Linked DNA regions of Homo sapiens: all the other regions are linked to region 1. Evidence: promoter capture Hi-C in 16 types of primary human blood cells and fetal thymus (Javierre and others, 2016). All regions are on one chromosome and are shown on one strand. The core of a region is centred on a gene start or on the middle of the fragment in contact, and the rest is flanking DNA. Distances in the headings are between cores, read along the strand shown.

Region 1 (5,756 bases), core at 2,025-4,524:
CTTTGGGATGGATGTTGGAGCGTTGTTTTGTTGTAGTTTTGCTGCTTTTGCCGACCTTGGGCAAGTGGAAGTTCTGTTTTCTGTTGAGAAGCCACAACGTTTCATTCTCTTTCCATTGTACAGGTTTTTGTTTGTTTGAGACGGAGTCTCGCTCTGTCACCCAGGCTGGAGTGCAGTGGTGCAATCTCTGCTCACTGCAACCTCCGCCTTCCGAGTTCAAGCGATTCTCCTGCCTCAGCCTCCAGAGTAGCTGGGACTACAGGCACCCGCCACCACTCTCAGCTAATTTTTGTAGTTTTAGTAGAGACGGGGTTTCACCATGTTGACCAGGATGGTCTCGATCTCTTGACCTCGTGATCCGCTTGCCTCGGCCTCCCAAAGTGCTGGGATTACAGGCGTGAGCCGCGGCGCCCGGCCTGTACATTGTTTTTAAAACTCCAGCCACCTTTTTACCCCCACCATAAAATTATACACAAATGACAGCCCTTATCATCTGTTTAGACTAAAACTTTTTGCTAAACTGTCCCGCCTGCTGGTGGCCCCAGGCCGCGGGCCCTGCAGGGATGGAGGCTCACTGCTGCTGTCCTAGGACTGCACTGGTCTCCATCCCAGAGAAGGGGTCGGTGGGGCGGCTCCCCTGCTGCTCCTAGGAGCCCCCCCTTCCCCCGCCCCAGTGCTGGGCTTCCTTCCTGCAAATGGTTCAGAGCTATTGGTCCAGATTCAAAGCTGCCCGTTCCACAGACACTGGGTGTCTCCATGGAAATGTTTAGCTTGGACGCATCCTCCCAGAGGCTGGGGATGTCTGCGGAGACAGAAGCCCCGCTGGGTGTGATGAAGCGGGGTGCCAGCGCCCTGCCATTTTCTAATCTGAGCTGGGAAACAACGCTGTGAAGTTAAGTGGCAGAGAACAGGGTGAGCTTTGTTTGGCCCCAGCCCGTGGGGCATTGTGTCTGGAGCGACTTCTGACTGGGTGGCTACTTACAGGCCTGTACTTCTCTGCGTTCTCCATGAGGAAGCAAGCCCGGGGCCTTCAGGAACCACGACGCCTAATGAGCTTCCACCCAGATGGTCCCGAAACCCGAGGGACGCAGGGGAGGCGCCCAGGTCCTCAGATGGGCCAGGAATGGCCTCGTGGGGCCTACTCAGAAGGACTCAGAGTTCTTCCCGGTGGTCTCAGCGATGGCTGGTGTGGAAACCACGCGTGTCCCCATGCTGCCGGCCTGTGTGTATCAAGGACTAGATCACACTTTCCGGCTGGCCCAGTTCTGCAGCCCTCATAAAATACACCCATGTCGGTCGGGCGTCGCTGCCCGGCGCACTGCCTTGCAGCAGGGACCTTTTCGAGCTTATTTTCTTCAGTAGGAAACACGAAAACTAGCCACTGCCCCGTCGTGTTTTTTCCTTGCGTAAAAGAAAGGGGCTCCTTACTACAGGTCGGCCACCGGCTCTTCAGGTACAGAGATCTGAACTTGGAAAGACCTGCCTTTCTAAAGGGAGTGATAATGAACACTGCGGCGTAAGTGTCCCAGGATTTAAAACCGAAACTCCAACAAAAAAAAATTTTTTAAACTCTGCTACTAGCAAGAGCACATTGTGTAAAACACTGACACGGGACATGGTTTAAACATGTCAACATTTTCTAACATTGGGATGAAGTGGTGTCTACCTCCCGTCCCGTGAAGCGTCAGGGCACCGACCACACGGACCCCCCTCCGTGGAGCTCACGGCCCTGTGCTCAGCTCTGCTAAGACCAGCGAGTTTTCCAGAGCTGGGGGAGCCCGGTTCTCAAGCAAGCCCCGCAGTTATCAGGGTCGCGCAGGAAGCGGCAGCGCTCGGAAGGACGTCTGCCCTTATGAAGTACATATGTTGGCAGGTGTGCTGGCGCTCTTTAAATAAATTATATAAAATATTTCAGAGCTGGTAAGGAATTTGGAAAAGCGTCTTCCAATTTCCATTAGCATTGCAATCCCTAATCCCTAACTCGTATGCTCACACCTCTGCAAGGGTATTTTCAAAGCCACTTGCAGGAGCCCACCCGGCATCGCCAGGGGTGTGTGCCGGGGACGGGCTAAGGTGGGGGACTGGAATGTGAGATGCGCCGCAGGGGGGTCTCAGCGCCCCCCACACCGGGTTTCAGGGACCCACACTGTGCCATCTTTTTTTCACTATAAAGAAGCAGCTCGAAACTTGGCGGTTCCTTTTCAAACTTGCCTGAAACATCTTCTCTGGCTGGAACTCCTGCCTATAGGATTTCAAAATGGCTTAAATTCGGGGCTGTGCTGCGGCCGCGCTTTGGATCTTTTGGTCCTGCAGGTCCAGGAGCCGGCGTGACGGGCTCGGCCCTGGGGAATTCAGGGGCGCGGCGCGAGGGAGACGCCGCCACGAGCTCGGGGTGGGGGTGGGGGGCGCAGAACCCCCAAACCGCGATCTTGGCGCCAGAGGGTGGCTCTGCCTCGCTCAGGAAGACACGGGGCATCCTTCACTCCCAAGGAAGCCTCCCTTCCTCCCTCCCACGTGCCCTCTGTGGTCCTGACGGCCCAGCCTCGCCCGTCCCCAAATCGCCGGCCTGCGAGCCGCTTCCTCGGCGGGACCCGCGGCGGCCTCGCCTCGCGCCCTCAGCGCTGGGGCAGAGGAGACACCTATTGGCAGAAGGCGCGCTCGGAACCGGGCTGCTGGGAGCTGGGGGACGCCGTTCCCGGTCCGCGCCGCGCCCCTCCCTGGGCGCACAGACCCGGCCGACCTCGTTCTCTGGCCCGGACCCCTCCGTGCGGGCGACGGGGGCGGGGTCGGGGGGCGCGGCCCGGGCCGTGGGGGGCGCAGGGGTCCGGGGGCGGAGGCCGCGCGGGGCTTACCTTCCTCCGCTGACTTCATGGTGCCGCCGGCGCGCGGCGCGGGCCCCAAAGTTTCTCCTCTCCCGAAGACCGCAGCCGCAGGGCCAAGTGGAAACTTGGAAGGGACTGGAAAGCTGGTGCTTGGCATCCGCGCGGCGGCGGCGGGGAGTGGAGCGGCGGGCGGAGGCACAGGAGAAGCGGCCGCCCCGCGCTGCCGGGGTCGGGTCTCCGGGAAGACAGCCCTCGCCCCGGGCTCAGCGCCGCGCGCCCCGGAGGAAAGTCATCGAGGGGCGTGTGCGCGCGTGGCGGGGCCCGGCCGCGGCCCTAGGACCTGCGCGGTGGCTCCGAGCCCTGCCCGCGCCCCGGTGCCCGCGCCCTGCTGCTGGGATCTGGCGCGGCGACTCCGCCGGCGAGTTCGGAGCCTCTGAGTCTCGCTCTGACGCAGGGCCGCGCTCTGCCTCCTGCCTTTTTAAAGCTGGAAAACACCTCCCCCGCCTCCCCGCCGGCCCGGCGGCTCCCGCGCCCCCTCCCTGCCGTGACATCACGCCCCTGCTGCCCGGGCCCGCGCGGGGCCCCGGGGACGAGTCGCCGAGCGCCCGCCCCTCCCCGCGCCGCGGCAGCCGCTCGCCTGGGGGCAGGGGCGCAAGAGGCGGGGCGCGCACGGGGAGGGGGGGCGCACGGGGAGGGGGGGGCGCACGGGGAGGGGGGGCGCCCGGGGAGGGGGGCGCCCGGGGAGGGGGGGCGCACGGGGAGGGGGGCGCACGGGGAGGGGGGGCGCACGGGGAGGGGGGCGCACGGGGAGGGGCGCACGGGGAGGGGATGGGGGCGTAGGGGCGGGAACGGGGAATCCGGGGGCCGGGCAGGGGGGCGCTGGGGCTGGCGGGGGAAACGGGGGCGAACGGGCCAGACGGGACGCCTGAGTCCACGCGGGTGTCCGGAGGGAGCCCGGCCCTGCTGGAAAAGGGGCGGGGGGCGGGGGCCGGGGGCCGGGGAGGGGTGTCGAGAAAGCCCGGCATGCTGAAGTCATTATGTAAAATCGCAGGCTTCCCCCGCTGTGGAAATTTGGAAAAGCGCTTCACTGGCAGGCCCTAGAAAGGAAATTCCCATCCCGCTAAATTACTAACAGATTGCGTGGCCGTCCCGGGACGTCGAGTTATTGTCATTTTTATTCTGTAAATATCTGCTCGACCTAGACGGCCTGTGGCAGGGGCCGGCGTGGGGAGGCCCGGGGACGCGCTCACCTGCCCTAGCCGCCCGGAGGGGGCGTTTTATGGGCGCGACTGCGCGACTTCTGACGGGGGGAGGCCCCCCGGCCACTCACACTTTCCTCTCTTACGTCTCCCTGCGTCTCTTCGGGCGCAGCTCAGCTGCCAACACGGCACCGCATTTTCTTGTTGGCTTTGGATGGGGGGGGTTGGAGGTTAAAGTGTCTGGTGTGTAGAAACCATAAATCGATTGCACGACACCCTTATGTGATTTAAACTAAACCCAAAGGCTAAACTCGTGTCTGCTGCGGGGCCCAGGAGGTCCGCAGACCCCCAGGGATCACTGTGCCCCGTGGGTGCCCCCCACAAGCGCCTCCTCCCTGCCGGGGGAGGCGGTCGGGCGCTGCAGAGCCCGCGAAGGTGCGCGGCCAGAGCCCGTCCGTCCCGCGTCCCGAGGCCTGGCTCCATTCGGCCGCCCCGACTCAGCACAAATGGAACCCCGGCTTTTCCACCGCAGGCCTCGGCCTGGAGAGACGTGCCCGGATTAGCGGGGTGGTGGCCGCCTCGCTCCTGCGGCGTCGAGGCCATTTCCAGGGGTCTCTACCTGCGGGGGCCCCTACGGCGCCGAGCCAGGCGTGGCACGCGCCCCAGAGCACCGGGCGCCGGGAGGGGAGGAGGGGCCGCGGGAGGACGCCCAGGCCGGTGGGCGGGGGTCGGGGGGTCAGGGGGACTCCAGCGAGGCCGCGCCCCCACGCCCCTCCCCCTCCCCTCCCCTCCAAATCTTCCCGCCGCGAGTGTCCCCAGGCCTGGGGCCAGGATTTGGCGGGGAGAGTTTCCGTCCCCCCCGCCCCGCCCTCCTTCTCCCCACCTCCAGGACGGGGCGGGCGGAGACTCGCCGGGAGGAGGGAATCCCGAGGCCGGGTCTGGCGGGGCGCGCCCAGCCGGTCACGTGGGAGACTGAGCCCCTCGACCCCAGCCGCGGTCCTCGAGCCCGGGACCGACCTGGCGAGGCTGCCCTTGGCTCCTGAGGAGCCGGGGCCGGGGCGGGGGCGGCCGGCTCTTCCTCCTCCTCCCGCCCCTCCCCTTCCTCCGCTGCCGCCTCCTCCTCCTTCAATAAATAATTTTTTCACCCCATGCAGAAAAGCTCCCTTTTCCTGTCTGCTCTCAAAGCCGTCCTTATCCCCCCGCCCGGGTGACGGAATCCCGGGTCTGTTTCCCTCTGTTTAATGCCGTTGCCGGGACCACGGTGGCCGCGCGCCAGGCGCAGGGAGTTCCGGAGGCGGCGGCCCAGAGCGCGGCCAGCTCGCCCGGCCTCTGCGCCCCGGCCCGGCCTCTGCGGCCACCGCGGGCCCCCGGCTCTGCTCCCCGAGCGCCCTGCGCCCCTTTCCTCTTCCTCCTGCCTCCTCGTAGGTTTGTTTATAGCCGCTACTAGGGGAGACGTTACACGGGTTTTATTTTAGGATTGGTGATGACTAACAAAGTTAAAAGGAGCTTAGGACAGAAAACAAGACTATTTTTAGATGACTGTTGTTTCTATGGATTATTGGGGGCAAAGACACCCCTAGAAGCTTACCGTTTTAAAAGCCCCTTGGGGTGCCAAATCCCTTCTCCTGGAGCGCACTTGGGTGTTCATCCACCCCGTCCAATATTTTCTAGAGCCTGGGCGGTCACTGTTGCTGGGGCTTCCTGGCGTCATGTGTGAGCACCAGGGCTATGAGAC
Region 2 (5,756 bases), core at 2,141-4,640, 580 kb before region 1:
GAGGTGTTTTCCAGGCTGGGCTCTCTCTGAAACCTGCCAAGGAGAGTCCTCATGCTTCTCCCAGCTTCTGGTGCTGCCAGCAGCCTCTTGGAGCTCCTAGGCTTGTAGACGCCTCTGCAGTCCTCGATGCCCCCAGAGCCTCCTGTCCCTGTGTCTTTATGTGGCCATTTTCCTCTAAGGACACCAGTCACACCAGATTAGGGGCCCACCTACTCCAGTATGACCTCATCTTACCTTAACTGATTACGCCTGCAGTACCGTTTCCAAATAAGCTGCGCTGTCACTTTGGGGGTTTAGGACTTCAACTGTTTTGGGGACACAGTTTAACTCATAACACATGTAAGTGGCTACAAGCTTCTAAAGGGCATTGAGTTAGTATTTATAAAGAGCCTTTAAAATGTCATATCCTTTGTTCCAGAATTTTAGGAATTTGTCTTTAGGAAATAATGAAGTATGTATACAAATTTAAGGGGGAAAATGTTCACAGATGAATAATATTAATGAACAATCAGAGAGTAACAGAAGAATGGTGTAGGAGGCTCTTCTCGCATTGCTATAAAGAAATACATGAGACCGGGTAACTTATGAGAAAAGAAGTTTAATTGGCTCACAGTTCTGCAGGCTGTACAGGAAGTGTGGTACTGGCATTTGCTTCTGGGGAGGCCTCAGGACCTTCCAATCATGGCAGAAGGCAAAGGGGAACAGGCACGTCGCACGGTGAAAGCTGGGGCGGAGTGTCACACACTTGGAACAACCTCAGCTCACTACCCCGAGGACAGCACCAAGAGGATGACGCTCAACCATTGATGAGAAATTCATCCCATGATCCAGTCGCCTCCCACCAGGCCTCACCTGCAACGCTGGGAGTTACGTTTCAACCTGAGATTTGGGCAGGGACAAATATCCAAACTATATCAAATGGTAAAGTAATGGCATAGCCATTTGATGAATCACGCAGCCATAGAAGTTTGCCATTTTTGGAAAGTAGGTAATGTATGTAAAAGAATGCTCTTAATTGGCCGGCGCTGTGGCTCACGCCTGTAATCCCAGCACTTTGGGAGGCCGAGGTGGGTGGATCACCTGAGGTCAGGAGTTCGAGATCAGCCTGGCCAATATGGTGAAACCTCGTCTCTACTAAAAATACAAAAATTAGCCAGACGTGGTGGCACACACCTGTAATCCCAGCTACACGAGAGTTTGAGGCTGGAGAATAGCTTGAACCTGGGAGGTGGAGGTTGCAGTGAGCCAAGATCATGCAACTGCACTCCAGACCAGGCGACAGATCGAGACTCCGTCTCAAAAAAAAGAAAAAAAAAAGAATGCTCAAAATTAAAGCAGCATACAAAATATTGTAGTACGATCACAATATGACCATATTTTGCTATGTCTGAACAGAAATAATATGAACAAATTAAAAAATATATATCTATAAGAAAGGGGAAAGAATATAGTAAAAATATTGCCAGGCGTGGTGGCTCATGCCTGTAATCGCAGCACTTTGGGAGGCCAAGGCAGGCGTATCACTTGAGTCCAGGAGTTCAAGACTAGCCTGGGCAACATGGCAAAACCCTGTCTCTACAAAAAATACAAAAATTAGCCAGGTGTGATGGTACGTGCCTGTAGTCCCGGCTGCTTGGGAGGCGGAGATGGGAGGATCGCTTGAGCCCAGGAGGCAGAGGTTGCAGTGAGCCAAGATCTTGCCACTGCACTCCAGCCTGGGCAGCAGAACCAGATCCTGTCTCTGGAAAAAAGATAGCAGCAGTCACCCCTAGGTGTTGGGATTGGAGGTGATCTTATTTTCTTTTTATTTTTCTGACTTTTCTAAATCTCTGATAAACTTGCAATTAAAGAAAAAATAACAGAAAATGTGTTATATGCAGTATTATTGGAGGTACTATTAATATTTGCAAGTGTTCAGACCTAATTGCGGGGAAATGATGGCAGGATTCTACAGGTATATTTTAGAGCAGTTGTGAGATGCATGTAACTATTTGTAAAGGTTCATACAGATGATTACTAGATCAGCATAAATAATATGTCTGTGGACGTTTTCTGCAGGACTTTGATAACTTGTTACCTGAGTGAAATTTAATTCCTGGGCGATTCTGGGAGATGGTAAAGTGAGGCGGAAGGAGCCAGCGGCCAATTCCTGAACTATTCTGGGAAACGGTGGCGTGAGGCGGAAGGAGCCGGTGGCCAAGGTCCCAGTAGTGTCACATGATCTTCCCGCGTGTTTGCTGCACTGGGAAAAAATGTTGAAGAATTAGTTTGAAAATTGCCCCGTTGGCCAGGAGTGATGGCTCACTCCTATAATCCCAGCACTTTGGGAGGCTGAGGTGGGAGGATAGCTTGAGCCTGGGAGGTCGAGGCTGCAGTGAGCTGATTGCACCATTGCACTCTAGGATGACAGAGTGAGACCCTGTCTCAAAAAAACAAAACAAAAATTGCCCTGATCCACACAAATTCTTGGTTTTGTTTTTATAAATGTGCTTCTATAAAATGAAAGCCAAAGTGTTCTGTTATTTCAGTTTTTTTTTTTAATCTCCTTTTAGGTTAAAAATTTTGCAGTTATTTATCTTGTGGATATTACAGAAGTGCCTGACTTCAACAAAATGTATGAGTTATACGATCCATGTACTGTCATGTTTTTCTTCAGGTACGTTATCTTAAAGTTGTTACTGAAATTGAATATTGTCAGTTTGGAAGCTTAATGTAATCAAGATCTCTTTAGATTATTTTATTTTGAAGGAAGTTGGTTGTACAGTCATGTCCCAAAATCGTTTGTATCACCAGGCAATCAGTGTGAATCTTTGAAATAATTTTCAAAGTAACAATTCTAGTTTTAGCATTTACTCAGTAACAAATTACCCTTTTGAAATAACTTTGCGGGGAAACCTAGGTGAAGTGTAATTCAATGAAAGATGTTGTTACTGACATTTTAGATACCTGGAACTATAATCTGTTCATCAAAAATGTTGTAAAATCACAAATTTAGGCCGGGCACAGTGGCTCAAAGCGCCTGTAATCCCAGCACTTTGGGAGGCCGAGGTGGGTGGATCACAAGGTCAGGAGTTCGAGACCAGCTGGGCTAAGATGGTGAAACCGAGTCTCTACTAAAAATACAAAATTAGCCGGGCGTGGTGGTGCATACCTGTAATCCCAGCTACTGGGAGGCTGAGGCAGGAGAATCACTTGTACCCAGGAGGTGGAGGTTGCAGTTAGCCGAGATCATGCCATTGCACTCCAGCCTAGGCAACAAGAGCAAAACTCCGTCTCAAAAAAAAAAATCAAAAACCTAATTTATTAAATATGTTATCATCAACTTCGGTGTCCTTTTTTATATCCAAGAGGAACACCTGAACTACTTTGCTTATAAATACAAGATTATTTTATCAGCTCAAAAATTTCATTATGGAAATTTAATGGGGAAAGAAATCACCATCTGATGCTGTTTTTACTTGTTTAGTTACCATAGAGGTTGGTGAATTAGCTACATGAGCATTAGACCATTCTCCAAAAGTGGAGCCTCCTACTCGGTAAGGAAGGTCAGGTGGGTTGTATAGGGTATGCGTTAGTTTTGTATTCTTTGTAACAAATTAGCACGCATTGAGCAGCTTAAATCACCCCGCTTTTCTGAGCTCACAGTTCTGTAAGTCAGACATCCAGGCAGGGCCCGCTGGATTCCTGCTCAGGGTCTCACAAGGTCTGAACCATGGGCTGGGTGCTTATCTGGAGTGTTTGAGGGGCTTGTTTGGGTTGTGGGCCGAGTCTGGCTCTTCGTGGTGGTGGGTCTGAGATCTGCTTCCTTGCTGCTGTTACCTGAGGCCACTCTGCTGCCAGAGACCCAGTTACCCTCAAAGCCAGCACTGGCATGCCGGCACATTGAGAACTTTTCACACAGGTTCTCTGACCTGAAAAGTTCTGCCTGAGAAAATGCTCTGGTTTTAGAGGACTGTGATAAGATTAGACTTGCCCAAATAATCCAGGATAGTGACCTTGTTTTATTTATTTATTGAGATGGAGTCTCACTCTCACCCAGGGTGGAGTGCAGTGGCACCATCACAGCAAGCTTGAACTCCTGGCTTCGAGCCATCCTCCCGCCTCAGGCTGCCAAAGCGTGAGGCACTGCCGTGGTTCTGGGCGTCGGGATACGCTCCCCTGGACACGCCCTTGGCTTCCTAGGTGCCTCCTGTTAGGTTGAGAAGATCTGTGAGGTGCACCCTGCATTTCTTGTGAACTTTTCATCTTTCCTAGGTTTCAGCAAAGGTTGCGTGGCTGACCCTCATCCTTTTCTCTACTGTGTGTTCAGCAGCCATTTCTGAATTTCAGCCCCTTTGGCCATCCGGAGAGGCTAAAGAATTTATTCCTTTTGTTAACAGTTCTTACACTAATTTGCCTCTTTCCTCTCTTGAAGGCAGCACCTCCGAGACTTTGCTTGGAAGTTTCCGCAGCTAAATATCCCGAGTGTGTTGCTTTTGAGCTCTGACTTCCTATAACTGCGGACCCCGTGTCCCTGTTCCTCGGCCACTCTGTAACGGGGGTCCCCTTTTCTCCGTTTCCCAGTAACACACTCCTCACTTCCTTCCAAGCCCACACCAGGTGTTCCTGAAGTCCATATTTCTGTTAACAGCCTGTTCGAGGCAATAGAGGCCTTTTCTATTTTGCCCCTCAGAATTCTTCAGGTGAGAACAGGGAGGGCCGTCTTAGGTCTCTGCCCCCCACAGCGTGCAGTGGAGGCCAGCCTGGGGCTGGAGATGCTGTGAGGGGCAAGGAGGCTGCAGGCAACAGCCTTGGGTGGCGGGAGCAGCCTACTTAGTGTAGTTTGATATTTTTAGGACTGATGCTGTACTCAGAAAAGGAGATGAAACTTCCTTCTGCTGTTTCTGTGATTTAGAATTTTAAGACAAACGGTACTTTAGTTAACTTATGCACCAAACATATATCTTGAGCCCCCACCAGGTTTGTGGTCTAGTGGTGGAGCCTAATGTCAGATAAGACAGGATTCCCACTCTCATAGGACGTTGTCTGATAGAAACAGCTGAGTAAATTAGCAGGGGGTTCTGAAGAAGTGAAAGGAGGCAGATGTTTATGAGATATAAATACCGAAGAAGTACACCCAGGTCAGATAGGGCTGCAGGGAGGGTGCTACGGGCAGCCCCCAGTCATTGTAGAAGGAGCTTGGTGCATGCTGCATGTAGGGCCTGCCTGCAGCATGGAGAATGAGAGGGCGGCCAGAGGTGGGCTCCAGACCCTGATCAGATTTGCCTCTCCTGAACCAGAGACTTCACGGGGAATACTTTCTACGGAATAGTAGGTGGAAGCCAAATGCATGATCTTGTGGAAGTGAACGTTAAAAAACAGTCTTTAGGTGGGGTATGCCTGCAGCCCAGCCACTCTGCAGGCCGGGGTGGGACTGGAGCTAGGGGTTTGAGTCCGGCCTTAGCAACATAGCTCGCATCTCTAAGAAAAATAATCAGGCCGGCACAGTGGCTCACGTTTGTAATCCCAGCACTTTGGGAGGCCGAGGTGGGAGGATCACTTGAGGCCATGAGTTTGAGACCAGCCTGGCCAACATGGGGACACCCCATCTTTACAAAAAACTAGAAATTTATCTGGGTGTGGTGGCTCGTGCCTGTGGTCCCAGTTACTTAGAGGGCTGAGGTGGGAGGATCATTTGGGCCAGGAGGTTGATTTTGCCACTATGCCCTAGCCTAGATGACAGTGAGACCCCATCTCAAAAAGAAACTTCAACAAAC
Region 3 (5,756 bases), core at 1,742-4,241, 560 kb before region 1:
GCACCACCGCTGTGGCGTGGCGGTTCCCGCCAGGTTACTTCAGGGCGGATGTCTGTGGCCTGAACCCTAAAGGCCAGGCGGTGAGTCCAGGCCACGGTGCCCAGCGAGGAGCAGGTGTCCCTGAGAACCCAAACAGCCCGGAGGGGATGTGAGAACCACCACAGGGAGCAGGCCCATCACACAGACGGCGCAAAGAGGCAGAAAATTAGCTCAAAAGCAGCTTAGGGACAGAAGCACGCTCATCTCTAGAGTTGTCCTGCTGCCCACGAGTGCCCCACATGTGAGTCCTAATAAACTCACCTACTCACCAAGCTGGACTCCGCCCAGTCATTCTTTGGTCTCTCAGCAACTCCCACTTTAGGGTAAGGTTTTAAATGTGATTCTCGGTTTTTCTCATTACAACCAGTCATCAGGAAAACACAAACCAAAACCACAATGAGCTCCCACTGCAACCCACCAGCATGGCTAGAATCAGAGAGACAAACGTAAGTCCGAGAGGCGTGTGGGGATTGTGGCCCCCCCCACGCAGCCGGTGGGCTGTGAAAGGCTGCAGTGCTGTGAAAAAGTCGGGTGGGTCCTCAGAAGTGAAGCAGTTTCCACAGGGCCCAGCCGCGCCACCCCTAGGCATATACCGAAACGACAGCGCGAGTGCACCAAGTCTACTGCAGCATCAGTAATGCTCAAAAGGTGGAAACCACCCAAATGTCCACCCCCAATAAGTAGGTGACAAAATGCAGATGATAGAATATTCCTCAGCCACACAAAGGAGTGAGGCGCTGACGCACGCTACGAAGCAGGCGGGCCTCCGGAACAACGCTGGGTGGCAGAGGCCAGGCGTGAAGACCCTGAGTGGTAAGTCCATGGAGAGTTGGAACAGGCAAGGCCACGGAGACAGAAAGTTGACTTCTGTTGCTGGGGGCTGCAGGGACGAGGGAGAGTGCGGAGAGATTTAGGAGGTCTGGGGTTTCTTTGTGGGGGGACAAAAATGTTCTAAAATTAGATCGTAAGAAGGTTTCACAACCCTGTAAATATACTCAAAACTGTTGAATTATGCCCTTTAAATGGGTGGGTTTTGTGGTATGTGAATTACATTTCAATGAAGCTGTTAAAATTATTTTTTAAAAGCATGGCCATTTTGCCACTTTTTGTGTGCTTTTAGCATCCTCCTCTTTTTTTCTGTCTCTGAGAGAGGCTGAGATACAAACTTAGTTGTAGGGGCCAGTGTGGACGGCTGAGAAAGACGCGGTGTGGGTGGAAAGTGGCTGCTGTGCTGTGGCTCCCGGCCCACTCCCAGGACCATTCAGGCCTAAGGAATCCTGCCGGGCGGCTTCTGGCTTCTCGGGAAAGCCAGTGTGGGTGGCTGCTGAGGAGGAGGAGGCAGGGCCAGAAGATGCCACAGTACAGGGTGGACGGCCTGCACCCAGGAAAGCCTGCCTGGCGTGGGGGGCAAGGAGTACAAGCCGGTGGTGTTTCCATCAGAAACACACCTCAGTGTCAAGAACCAGAAGTCACTCAAGCTAACTTAGGGGAAAAGGAAATTACGCCTGTAGAGAGGAGGCAGACACAGCGGGCTGGCGTCAGCCCTCCAAGCTCTTCAGAGGGCGCTCATCTCTGGAGGCGGGAGGAGATGGGCAGTGGTGCCCCACGGCAGGGCCACGACAGGGTTCCTCATCAGCCCACAGGCAGCTTTCCTAACCACAGACAGCTAAATGAGCAGGGAGCCAGTCAGACTGCCCTCCTTCCTCCCTTCCAGAAAGTTCTAGAACGTCCCCTCTTCCCTTACTCTGCAGGCACGGAGTTCCCGGAAGCTTTACTCCAGGGACAGCCCAGCATCAAGCTCATGGCTTCAGGGGACGGCTCCCTCGTGGTGGGGGCAGGCGCAGACCCAAGGGCTTTCGGTGTCTCCAGGGCGGGGCTGCTCCCTGGCTGCCGCTCCTCCCTTACTCAGGCGGAGCAGGGGCCACAGAGCTCTTGACAGCACTGAGCTCACCAGTGATAAAGCACTTCGGACAGCCGTGAAGGCAGACTGGCGTTGGGACTTTGGAGAGCTTGTGGGCACCCTGTGGAACCCGTTATCTTCAGATGTTGACTGGCTGACTCTGGGTGCAGGTTCAAGCTGGGCACCCTGTCCTCATGGGCTATGCGTTCCTAACCACAGACAGCTAAACGAGCAGGGAGCCCCACTGGCCCACACGAGCCTGGAACTGGCCCTGCAGAAGACGAGACGAGCCTGCCTCTGACCTGGGAACGCCTCTCTCCTCTCCAGCCGGCATCGGCCAGGCTCATATTGGGCCGTCCCTCCAGCCCTGGCTGCTTTTTCAGGTCAGGCTTCTTGGGCAGCCCGAGTAGGACCACCCAGCATCGCCGCACACAGCAGCCTCAGGCCTCACCGACATAGGCCGGGTGGTCTGTGGAGATGACAGGACTGCCTTTCTTTTTTCTGGGATTGGGTTTTGCTGTGTCACCCAGGCTGGAGTGCAGTGGTGCAATCATAGCTCACTGTAGCCTTGAACTGGGCTCAAGGGATCCTCCTGCCTCAGCCTCCCGAGTAGGTGGGACTACAGAGGCACGCCACCATGCCCGGCTACTATTTTTTATTATTTTTCTAGAGACAGGGATCTCCATATGTTGCCAGGGCTGGTCTCAAACTCCTGGGCTCAAGTGATCCTCCCACCTCGGCCCCCCAAAGCGCTGGACTTACAGGCACGAGGCCATGCTGGCCAAGGACTGGCTTTCGAGCAAAGCTCTTCAGCTGGATCTGATGGAGACAACACAGTGAAGGGGTGGGTTGCCCCTCCACACCTGTGGATGTTTCTTGTTAGGTGGAACGAGAGACTTGGAAAAGAAAGAGACACAAAGTATAAAGAAACAAAAAGGGGGCCCAGGGGACCGGCGTTCAGCATACGGATCCACACTGGCACCGGCCTCTGAGTTCCCTTAGTATTTATTGATCATTATCGGGCGTGGCAGCAGGATAATAGGATAATAGTGGAGAGAAGGTCAGAAGGTAAAAACGTGAACAAATGTCTCTGCATCATAAACAACGTAAAGAAAAAAGTGCTGTGCTTTTGATGTGCATATACACGAATATCTCAATGCCTTAAGGAGCAGTATTGCTGCCAGCATGTCCCACCTCCATCCCTAAGGCGGTTTTCCCCTATCTCAGTAGATGGAATATACAATTGGCTTTACACCGAGACATTTCATTGCCCAGGGACGAGCAGGAGACAGAAGCCTTCCTCTTATCTCAACCTCAAAGAGGCGTTCTTTCCTCTTTTACTAATCCTCTCAGCAAAGACCCTTTACGGGTGTCGGGCTGGGGGACGGTCAGGTCTTTCCCTTCCCATGAGGCCATATTTCAGACTATCACATGGGGAGAAACCTTGGACAATACCTGGCTTTCCCAGGCAGAGGTCCCTGCAGCCTTCCGCAGTGTTTTGTGTCTCTGAGTACTTGAGATTAGGGAGTGGTTTGAGGTTAGGGAGTGGTGATGACTCTTAACGAGCAAGCTGCCTTCAAGCATTTGTTTAACAAAGCACATCCTGCACAGCCCTTAATCCATTTAACCCTGAGTTGACACAGCACGTGTTTCAGGGAGCACAGGGTTGGGGGTAGGGTTACAGATTAGCAGCATCTCAAGGCAGAAGAATTTTTCTTAGTACAGAACAAAATGGCCCTCTGCTCAAATTCTACAATGCCAATATGGACTGCGGGTCTTCAAAGTGGTCTCCTCTACCTTAGGAACACAGCAAGAAAATGATGTGCATTCTCGATTTCACAGCTACTGGAGGAGTCATCGGCCAGATCGGCCTAGCAGTTGTTTCTTTTTGACCCGATAAAATTATGTTTAGAATAGCTCTCAGTTTTCCTGCTCATGTTTGGCTTAGGATAAATGTAGAAATTGTGCCTTCCTCAGCATATGCTGCCTGGGTGGCGCATGAACTGACAAAAGAGAAACTGCCGAGTACTAGCCCAGGATGAATAATTGACCATGGGAATCTAAATATTAAAGAATATTAATGTGTATTCTGAAGTTACAGAAATTAGCCAGTCTTTCCCTGGTGTGAGGACAGACAATTGGGAAGAAAACAGTCTGGGTAAGACTGAAATAGCTAATTACGTGAGCGAAGATGCAGACTACAAGAGCAGAATGTAGACATGAAACAAAGCTTTAAATTAGAAAACCAACGTTTTATTTTGGATAGCTGAAAACGTCCCAGTCCAACCCAGTGTAGGGTGCAGCTGTCTTTATGAAGCATGGGTGTCCATGGAGGTGCCCAGTTGCCCCTCGGATCCAGTGTGGGTGGCCTTGTTTCTGAGGCCCTAAATCTAAGACGCTGCTGATTTTAGGGTGCACTGTTATTATCAGAAATGGAGAAACGCTGCCAATTAAACGTTAAGTTCAGTTCTTATTTTATACTCATTAAAAGAGCGATTTTATAATTATTGATGCTGGTTGATGGATACATGCCTTTCATTATGTTACGCTCTTTTGTGTTTGAAAAGTTTTATTTAAAAATTATATAAAAGCAGTTCTTTTGGGTATAGATTTGGGTATACAGATCTGAGTAGAGACTGTTGCTCCTTTCTTTTTTTGAGACAGGGTCTTGCTCTGTTGCCCAGGCTGGAGTGCAATGGCAGAATTACGACTCACTGCAGCCTTGACCTCCTGGGCTCAGGTGATCCTCCCACCTCAGACCCCTGAGTAGCTGGGACTACAGATGCACACCAATGTACCCCACTAATTTTTGTATTTTTAGTAGAGATGGGGGGTCTCACTATGTTGACCAGGCTGGTCTTGAACTCCTGAGCTCAAGGGATCCACCCACCTGAGCCTCCCAAAGTCTTGGGATTATAGGAGTGAGCCACCGCACCTGGCCCGCTCTGTTTTACTTATTCTAAAATAATTGCAATATTTTCATAAGTTTAATTTTCATTGTTAATGCAATATCAACCAACTATTTTCTAATCCCATGAATTATTTACTATGCAATTCTGGTCCTGTTTGAGTAAGTGGTCTTTCCAAGAAGTCATGATTGTGGGTAATGAGGACCTCCTGTACCATGCAGCTTTTGTAGGTGTGAATTTTAAAACAGTGGCTCTCAAATATGGCTGCACATCAGAACTTCTGGGGAAGGCTTAGAAGGCTACCCTGACTGGCACAGTCCCCTTTATCGGTGCTCTGCGGGTGGGCCCGGGCACTTGAGCATTTGTGGTTTTAAAGCTGCCCAGGGGTTTCAGTGTGTGACCAAGTGGCTTAAGCTGTGGAATATAGCTTTAGACCCGTGGTAGGGAGGGCAGCACAATGGAAGTATTTTACATCAGAAAAGTCCCAGCTCCTCCCACTGTCCCTTGTGACATTTTGTCCACAAGCTGTAATCACCCAGTACATTGTTACTTTATGGCTTTTAACAGTTGTCTTTAGATCAATTAAGAATAACGAGGTTGGCCGGGCGCGGTGGCTCACACCTGTAATCCCAGCACTTTGGTAGGCCGAGGCGGGCGGATCATGAGGTCAGGAGATCAAGACCATCCTGGCTAACACAGTGAAACCCCGTCTCTATAAAAATACAAAAGATTAGCTGGGCATGGTGGTGGGCGCCTGTAGTCCCAGCTACTCGGAAGGCTGAGGCAGAAGAATGGCCTGAACCCGGGAGGCGGAGCTTGCAGTGAGCTGAGATCGCGCCACTGCACTCCAGCCTGGGCAACAGAGCAAGACTCCGCCTCAAAAACAAAAAAGAATAACGAGGTGGTTC
Region 4 (5,756 bases), core at 997-3,496, 550 kb before region 1:
GGAGGTGAACGTGGTGTGAAGTGGCCTCCGTGTGTCCCAGGGGACTGGCCTATTTTAGATGCTTGCCCAGCGTCACCTCCTCAGCCTCAGGTCTCTGTGGGTGGGTTGACCGGCACCCAGGCCGCTTGGTAGCCAGTGGAGAACGGCCCTGGAAGTGACTGTGAGCTTGGCTGTATCCTCCAGCCTTGGGGGTTGCGATCGTGCTTTATAGTGCAGAGGCTGAGGCCTGGAGGGGGCCGGTGTGGGGGCTGGAGCCAGCCTGTGGGCAGAGTGCCCGTGCCCCCTGCACTCCTGCTCCTGCAGTGTCCCTGCACCTCCGGCCTGTGCCTCAGGCCCAGAAAACCCTGTTCAAGCTGCCTCTTTGCTGCTGGCCGTCCTCTATCCCCGGGCCCATCACCCTCCCTTCTTCTGTTTGCCTCTTAGTCTTGCCTTGTGTGTTTCTCAGAGGCTTCCTCGGGAAGCATCCAGTGAGGCAAGGGGACGGTGGTGGCCCCTGCTGACCTGGGTGATATTCCTGGAGGTACAGCTTGTGTGCCTGCCTGCCTGGCCCCTGTCCACCCTGGGCCATGGCTGCTGACCTGGGTGAGATGCAGCTTGTCTGCTTGCCTGTCTGGCCCCCTGTCTGCCCCAGGCCCAGGCTACTGTTTTCTCTGCCCTTCCCTCTGCTCCCTGAGTCTCTGTGACCTCAGGCAGCTGCTCCCTCTGCTGAAAAGCTCCCAGGAGACAGGGAAGGGCCTTGGTCTCTGAAGCCAGCACAGAGGGAATCAGCATGGCCACCCTCTGAGGACTGCATCCTGGCTCCCTGTCCTCCCAGGAGAACGTCTGTGGCTTTTTCCTGGTTGCTGTGGGAGCCTCACCTGCAAGTGGAACCTTCTTACCTGCTGGGCTGGCTCACCTGCTGAGGGGGCTATAGGGTTCCCCTTGTTCCTGCTCTGAGTTGATAAGGCAGTGCTGAGGGGGCTATGGGGTTCCCCCTGTTCCTGTTCTGTTGATAAGGGGGTGCTGAGGGGGCTGTGGGGTTCCCCCTGCTTCTGCTCTGTGTTGATAAGGGGGTGCTGAGGGGGCTGTGGGGTTCCCCCTGCTTCTGCTCTGAGTCGATAAGGGGTTGCTGAGGGGGCTGCGGGGTTCCCCCTTCTTCTGCTTCGTGTTAAGGGGATGCTGCATGGGAGCTGGAGAGAGGTGGGGGCTGTGGTGGTTGTTGCTAGGTCTTCCAGTTTTTCAGAAGTTGGGAAATGAGGCTGTTATGTAGGATCTCCTGACTTTGACATGTTGGTGACCAGTTCAAGTTTTGAAAATTCCCTTCAGGCCAAACTGCAGGCTGATTGAGATTCCCGCGCTGGAACAGTCAGGGGTTGGGGCTTTCTATGAGTGCGTGCCACACACAGCCCAGCCTTGGAGGTGGTGGCTCTGCAGGCATGTGTCCCAGCTCTGTGGTGGCTCTGGGGAGGCAGAGACCGCAGGGAGGCAGAGACTGCCAGTCATTGGCCTGTGGTTCTGCCCTGCAGAGGCTCCTAGCTGAGCTGAAGAGATGCTCAACCCTGGTCAAAAGTCAGCAAGAAGGCCTGGGAGCCTGCAGCTAGAGGAGCTCGGGGCCAGGGAGGCGTGGGGGCGGGGGTGGTGCAGAGCCTTGGCTGTCTTCTCTTCTGTGGGAGTGTGTGTGCATGTGGAAATTTCGCATCTGGCCCACCTGCTGCTCTGCACACTATCCCCGCCTTCCCCAGGCAGGAAGCAGGGCTGCTGTGAGCTAGAAACTGGGCTTTTTGCCTGGTGGCAACCCGGAGGCTGCAGGGAGGGCCTGGGGCACCTGGGCTGAGCTGTGGGAGGGGACTCAGGGCCACTAGACCCGGGTACCAGTGCCTGGGCCACTGGTTCTGGGGAGCGCCAAATGTGCCGAAGGGTTCTGAGTCAGGCTGTATGGGGGTCTTACGGCCCCTCCCCGGAGCCCTACCCCACCTGGAGTCTGGGAGATGGGCAACAGGTGCCTGGTCACTGTGGTGTTTGCCAACTCCTGGGCTCCTTCCCCGGGATGCCGCTTGGGGCCTGGGAGAGGGGGAGTGGGTGGGCAGTCTTTCCTGCTGCAGGTTCAGGACTGGGTGAGGCGGCGTGGGTGGGCCTCCCTTCTGACCCGGGTCTCTCCCGCTGCAGGTTCGGGATTGGGAGAGGCGGCATGGGCGGGCCTCCCTCCCGACACAGGATCTTTCCTGCTGCAAGTTCGGGACCAGGAGAGGCGGCATGGGTGGGCCTCCCTCCTGACACAGGATCTTTCCTGCTGCAGGTTTGGGACCAGGAGAGGCGGCATGGGTGGGCCTCCCTCCTGACCCAGGTGTCTCCCGCTGCAGGTTCGGGACTGGGAGAGGCGATGTGGGTGGGCCTGACACAGGGTCTCTCCGGCTGCAGGTTCAGGACTGGGAGGGGCGGCGTGGGTGGGCCTCCCTCCTGACCCGGGTCTCTCCCGCTGCAGGTTCGGGACTGGGAGAAGTGGCATGGGTGGACCTCCCTCCTGACACAGTGTCTCTCCCGCAGGTTTGGAAGGCGCTTTGAGTCCCCGCTGCTGTGGCAGAGCGCCATCATGATCCTGACCATGCTGCTGATGCTGAAGCTGTGCACCGAGGTCCGTGTGGCCAACGAGCTCAACGCCAGGCGCCGCTCCTTTACAGGTTGGTGGCCGGCGCTTCGGAATAAAGTCGCAGGGAATCAGGGCGTAGGTGACTCTGGTGAAACAAAAGCCACTCTAATCTGTCCTGATCCAAGCAGCTTTCATTTCACCAAGTGGTGCTGTTATCTCCAGCTGATAGTGTTTTCAGTATGTTAAATGACTTCAGTTAAACGGTTTATGACTTGAAGCAATTCAAGATAATAGTTTCTTCACTGGAAGTTGGGTGAGGCCTCAACACATCTTCACGGTTCCTCTTGGCTGTGAGCGCCATCCCAGACGCTTTCTGTGTCAGAACAAGAAGTGCTCATCTGTGCCTGGCCCATCAGGTCAGACGGTACCAGGTCAGGCGTTTCGTCTGTGTGCGTGGCCTGTACACAAAACACACCCTTTCAGTTCTGCTGTGACTCAGGGGTACCTTAGCCAGGGTCTTCCTCACAGACCTTGTTAAACAGACCCAGAGTCCCCCCGCAGGGTCAGGCAGCCCCTTTATGCGGAGCACACTGCAGTGTTGACAGCTGGGCAGGACCAATCACATGCTTAGCACACATGGCTCCTTAACCTTTGGCAGCTTAGAAAATAGAAAATACTTCTTCCAGTTTTTGCCTATTGCACAGTTTGTTCCAGTCTGAACTCTGTTTGAACATGCAGGCTGGCGGGCTTCTTGTGTGCAGGAGGGTTAAATCCTTCCTTTTGTTTTTCTTCTAATTACTAAATCTAAGACAGCACTCACTTTGGCTTTGAGAGAGAGAGTGATCTCAGCTATCACTTGGAGAAGAGTATCTTCCCAGAGTTTGTTAAGTTTGGGGCTTCTGTGGATTTGAGCTCTTGCCGGGGAGCTGTGTCCCTGTGTTTCTATTCCTGACCGCTACTTCGTCCTGTTGGAGAGGATTCCCACCTCTGCCTTTTTGTCTGCTTCTGTTTCTAGACTGAGGTGACTGTGTGCTGCTTTCAGCCTCTGTAGAAACCAGACCAGCCTCCAGCCAGTGTGACCTGGGCCAGTTAGTGTCGTTGGGGCCACAGAGATGAGCTCCAGCGTCTTTTCTGCGGTGTTCTGTTCTTTCTCCCCATTCACGCCATTCTCCTCTCCTCTGAGTCTCTGCTCTGTTCCCTTCTATTGTGTTTTGGGTTTGAAATTACACCAGAGATGGTACTGAGGATACCACAGATCTTGCCTAGAAAGCAGGCTTTTAAGAACCAGCCGGATTCCCCGCATGAGGAGCTGCGGTTTTACATTTCTGCTTAGGTGACTCGGTCTTGCTCCCCGCAAGGCTTTGCTCCTTCTCTGGACCTGAGCTCCTCATGGCATGTTCCCTGCCCCTTTGAACCTCAGTATTTAACTTGGAACAAGAATGTTCTCACTGTGGGAGGGCCGGCTGGCCGAGAGAACGGTTTGTGCCTAAGATGCCCAGTGCGTTGCTGGGAGTTTCTGCTGTCCTCGGGCTCTGGACATTTGTGCCTAAGATGCCCAGTGCGTTGCTGGGTGTTTCTGCTGTCCTCGGGCTCTGGACATGAGGCCAGACCTTGTGACCTTGTTGGCAGTGGGCAGTGGCTTGATGTGAGGTCCCAGAGACGGCAGGTTGTGAGTGTCCAGGCAGAGCAGCCAGCGTGGGGTTTAATGTGAGTGTGTGTTGGAACACTGGGATACCCCTAGAAGCGGCATCGTAAGCTCCCCACCTGCATTCATTTTACCAGCAGGTGCAGGTTCAGGCTTGTCTCAGAGGACCGTTGGATAAGAAGGGAGTGGGATGGTGGATGCCTGGCGTTCTGTGTCACTTCTTCCAAAGGAGTACTTCTCTTCTGGTTACCCAGGATGAGTTAAAAATGTGAGTCCCAGTTTCCAGAGCTAGGCCTGGAATCTGAATTTTAAACACCCTCTGTGGGTGTACAGAATAATGGCCCCTGGAGACGTCCGTGCCCTGATCCTGGGAACCTGTGACGTGCCACTGTACATGGCAGAGAGACTCTTGAGGGGGCTGGTCCTGGATTATCCTGTGGTGTAACCTAATCTCAGGGGTCCTCAGACGTGAACAAGGGCCGCAGAGGAGATGGTCAGGTGCTGGAGCTGAGGGCCTGGCTCTCTGCCATGGGTCGGCCGTCGCTTTACAGGCAGCAGAGCCCCCGACCACGGGGAGCTGAGTTCTGCCTGTACTTGAATGGGTAGGAGACACAGCCTTGGTTTTAGTTCAGGAGACCACTGGGCCTCTGGCCTCCAGAATTAAGATAATCAGCCTGCATTGTGGCTGCCACGTTTGTGGTACCTTGTTATGGAGGCGATAGGAAGCTGGGGCACCCTTTCCTCAGGCCTGGAGTATTTGGGAAGCAGTCCAGGGCCGCCACGAGGGGTAGGGGGCCGGGCTCCTGGGGTCAGCCTGGGTGACCTGTGCCTGCCCTCCCCCGGGGAGGACTGAGAACCAAGCTGCATGACTCCTGGGCCCCAAATGACCTCAAGTGGGACATCCGCTCTTGAGCTCTGTGTCCTGGGGTGTAGCTGTGTGTGTTAAAGAATTCTCAAGATTTACCTCTGCAGCACTCTTAATATTGGAGTCCGGTTTGAGTTTATACATGTCCACGTCCCCTTGGTGGATGGGCCAGGCCTGTTCCTGCAGGGCGTCTTGATGAAAGGTGTGGGCTCATGTCCTCTCATCTGCCAGGAGAGGGGAGGGCAAGGCAGGAACATCACTGGAGTTCAGACTGAAAGCTCTGGCTTCTGGCCGCCCGATCGGTAGCTCCTGCAGCACAGCCCCATGCCAAGCAAGGTGGCCAGCCTTGTCTTCCTGTCAGCGGCGTCACCTTTAAGGGAAGGTTGTTGGCTCTGAACATGTTCTGTTTTTTTTTTTAAGCTTTTAAGTTCAGGTACATGTGCAGGTTTGTTATATAGGTAAATTGTTTGTCACGGGGGTTTAGTGTACAGATTATTTCTCTAACTCCTGAACTCCTGACCTCAAGTGATCCACCCACCTTGGCCTCCCGAAGTGCTGGCATTACGGGCGTGACCCACTGCGCCCGGCCAGTGTGCAGATTATTTCATCACCCAGGTATTAAGCCTAGTACCCACTGGTTATTTTTCCCGGTCCTCTCCCTCCTCCTGCTCTCCACCCCC
Region 5 (5,756 bases), core at 1-2,500, 510 kb before region 1:
GGCTTCAGCTGCACGTCCTGCCGGCCCCCGTCTGACCAGGGCTGTGTCCCGGCTGGAACTCTGGAGCCCTCTGTCTTTGTTGGTGTGTGCAGACCTGAGCTCTGCCACTGCGGAATCCTCACGGGGCGTGGGCCAGCCGCCTGCCTCCTGGCCTGCCTGGCTCCCTGGGGTTCTGTGTGTTGGAGGCGTCAGCAGGGAAGGGGACGGAAAGATGTCCAGGCCCCCACTGGCCCCTCAGGGCTAACCAGCCCCCTCCTAGGGTGGGCTCCGAATGGGCCTGGGCTCTGCCTGTGTGGTTGGGGCCTCAGGAGTGGCCCCGACCCCCGATTTCCCTCCAGACAGCAAAGCAGCCCACGCTGTTCCAGGCTCTGCTCTTCCTTCCTGGGGGCTGGGCTCAGGCATCACCTTCCCACTTGTCCCCACCTGAGGCCGTGGTGTGGGTGCTGCAGTGAGCCTCTTAGCCCTTCCCCTGCCACACCTGGCAGCCAGGGGCATTCCAAGTTGCAGACCACATGGCTTTACCTGATTTTACAGTGGGAGCTAAAAGCTGTCTCTCTAGGTCTGGGTTGCTTGCTTTGACTGTTTCACTGAAGATAGTTTGAAAGTTGTTCACAGTTAACTTGTGTGGCCGCTGTGTGAGGAGGGACGTTGTCTGTCAAAGCAGCCAAAACAAACGTGCCCTGGCCTCCTCCGTCTACACTGGAACACGCCCAGCCATATGGGAAACCCTGGGCAAAATAGACACAGTCAGCAGATTCTCCGGGGTGCCACGTTTCTCTATTTTACACCTGTCTTTGGTCCTTTATATAGGATTTGTGTGGTTCATATGGTCTCTTTTAGAATGAGAAAATGTTAAATTACAGCTTAAACTTGCCTTAAATTACAGCTTAGTTCATTCATGTGTGATGCGAAAAAAATGCTCAAATTTAGAAGAGAGTGAACTAGAAAAAGTCTTGTGAGATGGTGGGGAAGGTTGGGGACTCTGTTGTGAGATGGTGGGGAAGGTTGGGGACTCTATGGTGAGGGTGTGGGGAAGGTTGGGGACTCCGTTGTGAGATGGTAGGGAAGCCTGGGGACTCTGGTGAGGTGGTGGGGAAGGTTGGGGACTCTGGTGAGGTGGTGGGGAAGGTTGGGGACTCTGGTGAGGTGGTGGGGAAGGTTGGGGACTCTGGTGAGGTGGTGGGGAAGGTTGGGGACTCTGGTGTGAGATGGTGGGGAAGGTTGGTGACTATGGTGAGGATGTGGGGAAGGTTGGGGACTCTATGGTGAGGATGTGGGGAAGGTTGGGGACTCTATGGTGAGGATGTGGGGAAGGTTGGGGACTCTGGTGAGGGTGTGGGGAAGGTTGGGGACTCTATGGTGAGGGTGTGGGGAAGGTTGGAGACTGGTGAGATGGTGGGGAAGGCTGGGGACTCTGGCGAGGGTGTGGGGAAGTCTGGGGACTCTGGTGAGGGTGTGGGGAAGGCTGGGGACTCTGGTGAGGTTGTAGGGAAGGCTGGGGACTCTGGTGAGGTTGTGGGGAAGGTTGGGGACTGTGGTGAGATGGTGGGGAAGGTTGGGGACTCTATGGTGAGGGTGTGGGGAAGGTTGGGGACTCTGTGGTGAGATGGTGGGGAAGCCTGGGGACTCTGGTGAGGTGGTGGGGAAGGTTGGGGACTCTTGTGAGATGGTGGGGAAGGTTGGGGACTCTATGGTGAGGATGTGGGGAAGGTTGGGGACTCTGGTGAGGTGGTGGGGAAGGTTGGGGACTCTGTTGTGAGATGGTGGGGAAGGTTGGGGACTCTGTTGTGAGATGGTGGGGAAGGTTGGGGACTCTATGGTGAGGATGTGGGGAAGGTTGCGGACTCTGTGGTGAGATGCTGGGGAAGGTTGGAGACTGGTGAGATGGTGGGGAAGGCTGGGGACTCTGGTGAGGGTGTGGGGAAGGTTGGGGACTCTGTGGTGATGTTGTGGGGAAGGCTGGGGACTCTGGTGAGGTTGTGGGGAAGGTTGGGGACTCTGGTGAGGTTGTGGGGAAGGTTGAGGACTCTGTGGTACTCTGATGGGGAAGGTTGGGTACATCGTGGTGAGGAAGACTGGGGACACTGTAGTGAAGTTTCTGGACTCACCCTTGAACTACACATGCATAGATCTGGCCCTAAACTACATGCCAACAGCTTTGTGAACTCAGTGTCATTGTGGACAGTTGACTGCTCAAGTCCCAGTCTTGTCTCTGAGTGTTGCACATGAAAGACAGATCCAAAGATCAAAAGGGAGGTTTTGAAATGGAATTAAATTGAACTGCAGTCCACCAAAAACAAGTCAGACCTCACACCCTGAATCTAACCACATGAAGTGCTTGGTAGCAGGAAAAGCAACACTGTTGATAGGACCATGGAAGACTCACATCTCACTGCATAATGTTCAGAATGTCCAAGATAAAAACCAAAGTTATGTATGAAGAGTTGAGTTTCTCAGCTGCCAACGGAAATGACAGTCAATAGAAACCAACTCAGGCTGACAGATCAGACTTATCCAAGATTTTGAAGTCACTGTTGTAACTGTGCTCTAACAGGTAAGAGCAAACGTTCTTGGAATGAACGGGAAGACCGAACATCTCCATAGAGAAATAGAAGTTTAAAGAAAACCAAATAGATAATTTTAAATTGAAAAATACAATAATCTAAATAATATATTTCACGACACAACTGTAGAATGGAGATGAGAGGAAATAGTGAAGTTGAAGGCAGATCATTAAAAAATGTCCATTCTGAACAGGAAGCAATTGAAAAACAGTAACAAAAACATGAATAGAGTCAGGGACAAATTCCAAAGGGTCTAATATTCTGTCATCTGAGCCCAGAGGAGAGGAGAGTGTGACACAGAGGAAAAATAGCTGAAGAAATAAGGGCTGAAAACACCCAAAATTTGGTGAAAGACAAACATAGATGTAAGAAGTTCAGTGAATCCCAAACATATCACATCACAATCAAACTGGTAAGAATCAAAGTCAAATAAAAAATGTCGAAAGCAGTTAAGAGGAAAAGGATCCAAATTACTATGGGTTTCTCACCAGAAACGAGGGAGGTCAGAAGGAAGTGGCACATTTTTCAGATGCTGCAAGAAAAGAACGTTTGACCCAGAATTCTATATTCAGGAAAAAAAAAAAAATTCCTTTAGGAATCAAGGCAAAATAAAGACCTTCTCGAATGAAAGGAAACAAAGCGAAGTCATGGGCAGCAGTGCTACTCAACAGGAAATACTAAAAAAAGTTCTTCCGCTGGAGGAGAGCAACTTGGGACTCCAGGAATGAAGGAAAACCAACAGAAATGGCCAATATCTGGGTAAATATAATATATATATTTTTCTTCTTAAGTTATTTAAAATATGTGTGAAAGTTAGCAAAAAATATAACATTGTCTGGTGGGGTTTTTAGTGAATGTAGCTGTACGTGACAAGTCCAATGTAAAAGAGGGAGACGATAGTGAACTTGGTGCTAAGACTTCTGCATTCCACTTAAAGTAATAAAATGTTGATCCTAAGGAGACTTTGACAAGTTAAATATATTATAGTCCCTAGAATAAGATTTTTCAACAGCAGCACTATTGATACTTTGAACTGGAGAATCCCTTATTGTGGGGGACTATCTTGGTATTATAGGATGTTTAACAGCATCCGTGGTCCCCTACACACTAGATACCAGCAGTGTTCCTCCAGTTGTGACAACTAAAAATGTCTCCAGGAATTGCCAGATGTTTCCTTGGGCAGGGGTGTGAGGATGGGGTCATAATCACTCCCATTTGGGAACCAATGCCCTAGAGCACTAAAAGAACTATACAGGCCTGACACGGTGGCTCACGCCTGTAATCCTAGCACTTTGGGAGACCGAGGTAGGTGGATTGGCTGAGCTCAGGAGTTTGAGACCAGCCTGGGCCACGTGGTGAAACCCATCTCTACTAAAATACAAAACATTAGCGGAGTGTGGTGGCGGGCGCCTGTAGTCCCAGCTACTTGGGAGACTGAGGCAGAAGAATTGCTTAAACTGGGGAGGCGGAGCTTGCAGTGAGCTGAGATCGCGCCACTGCACTCCAGCCTGGGTGACAGAGCGAGACTCCTTCTCAAAAAAAAAAAAAAAACAACCAAAAAAAAAAAAAACTATACAAAGAGATACAGTGAAAAACCAAATAGATAAATTAAAATGGGATATTTTAAAAATTTCAAATAATCTAAAAGAAGGCAGGAATAAAACCGTAGGGACAAGCTGAGACCAAAAAAAATTAAAATGGTCGATCTAAATTCAAACCTGTCAATAATAACATTCAATGTAAATGGCCTAATCATACCAATTAAAGGACAGCAATGTTCAGATTAATTTAAAAAGAAACACAAGACTCAGCTACCTGCTGTTTACAGCAAACTCAATTGAAGTCTGATTACATCCATGGCGGATGCTGGGGTGCAGGATGTATTGACCAGGAGGCCATGCAGTGAGAGATGCATATATGAACCAAAGAAAGCTTGGAGTCGCTGTATTAATATCAGGCAAAGTAAAGGACATTTGCCTTGAATAAAAAAGGACATTGCATCATGATAAACTGGTGAGTTCACCAAGAAGATACAACAGTTCTGAGTGTGTATGCATGGAACCCCAGAGCCTGGAAGTCCATAAGGTCAGAACTGACAGAAATGCAAAGACAAATCCCCAGTTGCACTTAGGGACTCCAGCTTTCCTCAGTAACTGATAGAAAAAGCAGACAAAGTTAGCAAGGATGTAGAAAATCTGAACACCATCAACAGCCAAGTGAACGTGCGCATTCTTTTCAGATGCCCGTTGGGCATTCACCAAACAGACCATATCCTGGGTCATGAGAATTTTTTTAAAAAAGAACTGAAATTGTGCAAAGTATTTTCTATGAATATAATATAATTAAGCTAGAAATTAATAGCAGAAATAGATCTTAAGTCTCCAAAGGTTTAGAAGCTAAACAACACACCTTTAAACAATCTGTTAAAGAGGATATTGCAAAGCAAACTATTGAAAATATTTTGAACTGAAAAATACACCACCATATCAAAATTTGTGGGATGCAACTAAAGCAATGCTTAGAGTTAAATGTGTAGTATTAAATACTGATTTTAGAAAAAAGTTCTCAAATCATCAATCTAAGCTTAAGAAACTATAAAATGAAATGCAAAGGAACCCCAAGCCAGCAGAAGGAAGGAAATAACGGAGCTAACACCAAGCAACAAAAATGAAAACAAAACTGCAGCAAACATAAAAAACCAAACTGAAAGCTGGTTCTTTGGAACAAATCATTAACTGATAAACCAGTGGCCAGAATGACAAGAAAGCACAGATCCCCAGTATTTGGTATGGAAGAGGATATTCTGTAGACCCCACAGGCATCAAAAGAGTACAATGAACAACCTCATGCCCATACATTTGAAAATTTGGATAAAATGGACCAATTCCTTTAACCCAAGAAGAAATAGCTTGAGTATCTCTTAAGTAGATAACCCGTATCTATGAAGGAAGTTGTAGATGCATAATCTAAAGTCTGAAAAGGCTCTTTTTCCAGAGAAGCCAGAAATTGTGTCTGTGTGTGGGTGTGTGTGTGTTTACAGAGTTACCAACTGATTAGAAACAAAGTGTTGAAACTCAAGTGTGAGCTGATGCTGCATGCCAAGTAAAGCCACGGGCTTTGTGTGGGAAGTAGCCTGTCCCTGAAGCAGGCGTGGTGGTGGCTCTCAGGCCTTGAGTCTTGTTCGCAAGCACA

The links. Contacts are between HindIII fragments. The CHiCAGO score rates a contact against its expected background, and 5 or more counts as called.
Region 2: a contact is called between a fragment that was not itself captured here and the fragment with the promoter of NFATC1 in region 1, in 4 of 17 cell types (monocytes, erythroblasts, total CD8 T cells and 1 more). The highest score is 7.3, in monocytes.
Region 3: a fragment that was not itself captured here is called in contact with the fragment with the promoter of NFATC1 in region 1 in 13 of 17 cell types (megakaryocytes, erythroblasts, activated CD4 T cells and 10 more); the score reaches 13.5 in megakaryocytes.
Region 4: a contact is called between a fragment that was not itself captured here and the fragment with the promoter of NFATC1 in region 1, in 1 of 17 cell types (monocytes). The highest score is 5.9, in monocytes.
Region 5: a fragment that was not itself captured here is called in contact with the fragment with the promoter of NFATC1 in region 1 in 1 of 17 cell types (monocytes); the score reaches 8.3 in monocytes.

The regions. Positions count from the first base shown.
Region 1 is chr18:79,393,448-79,399,203 of GRCh38, reverse strand. It overlaps NFATC1 (nuclear factor of activated T cells 1), which reads right to left and starts at 3,274. Exons shown (of 10, transcript NM_001278669.2): 1 at 2,853-3,274. The coding sequence starts at 2,979. RefSeq lists silencers at 2,579-2,678, 3,039-3,438, 4,864-5,153 and enhancers at 2,335-2,882, 4,524-4,643, 5,348-5,756. The HindIII fragment of the contact is 8,960 bases long and covers 1-5,606 here.
Region 2 is chr18:79,974,498-79,980,253 of GRCh38, reverse strand. TXNL4A (thioredoxin like 4A) reads left to right here. Exons shown (of 3, transcript NM_006701.5): 2 at 2,553-2,656. Among named protein-coding and RNA genes, the nearest start is that of TXNL4A, 11 kb to the left of the region's middle. The HindIII fragment of the contact is 1,363 bases long and covers 2,709-4,071 here.
Region 3 is chr18:79,958,084-79,963,839 of GRCh38, reverse strand. No RefSeq gene overlaps it. Among named protein-coding and RNA genes, the nearest start is that of HSBP1L1, 3.7 kb to the left of the region's middle. RefSeq lists enhancers at 636-715, 3,104-3,788, 4,914-5,511, 5,512-5,756. The HindIII fragment of the contact is 2,361 bases long and covers 1,811-4,171 here.
Region 4 is chr18:79,940,230-79,945,985 of GRCh38, reverse strand. It overlaps SLC66A2 (solute carrier family 66 member 2), which reads left to right. Exons shown (of 6, transcript NM_025078.5): 3 at 2,524-2,657. Among named protein-coding and RNA genes, the nearest start is that of SLC66A2, 8.5 kb to the left of the region's middle. RefSeq lists a silencer at 1,662-1,721. The HindIII fragment of the contact is 6,504 bases long and covers 1-5,498 here.
Region 5 is chr18:79,905,713-79,911,468 of GRCh38, reverse strand. All of the region lies in intron 5 of SLC66A2 (solute carrier family 66 member 2), which reads left to right. Among named protein-coding and RNA genes, the nearest start is that of SLC66A2, 43 kb to the left of the region's middle. The HindIII fragment of the contact is 6,496 bases long and covers 1-4,498 here.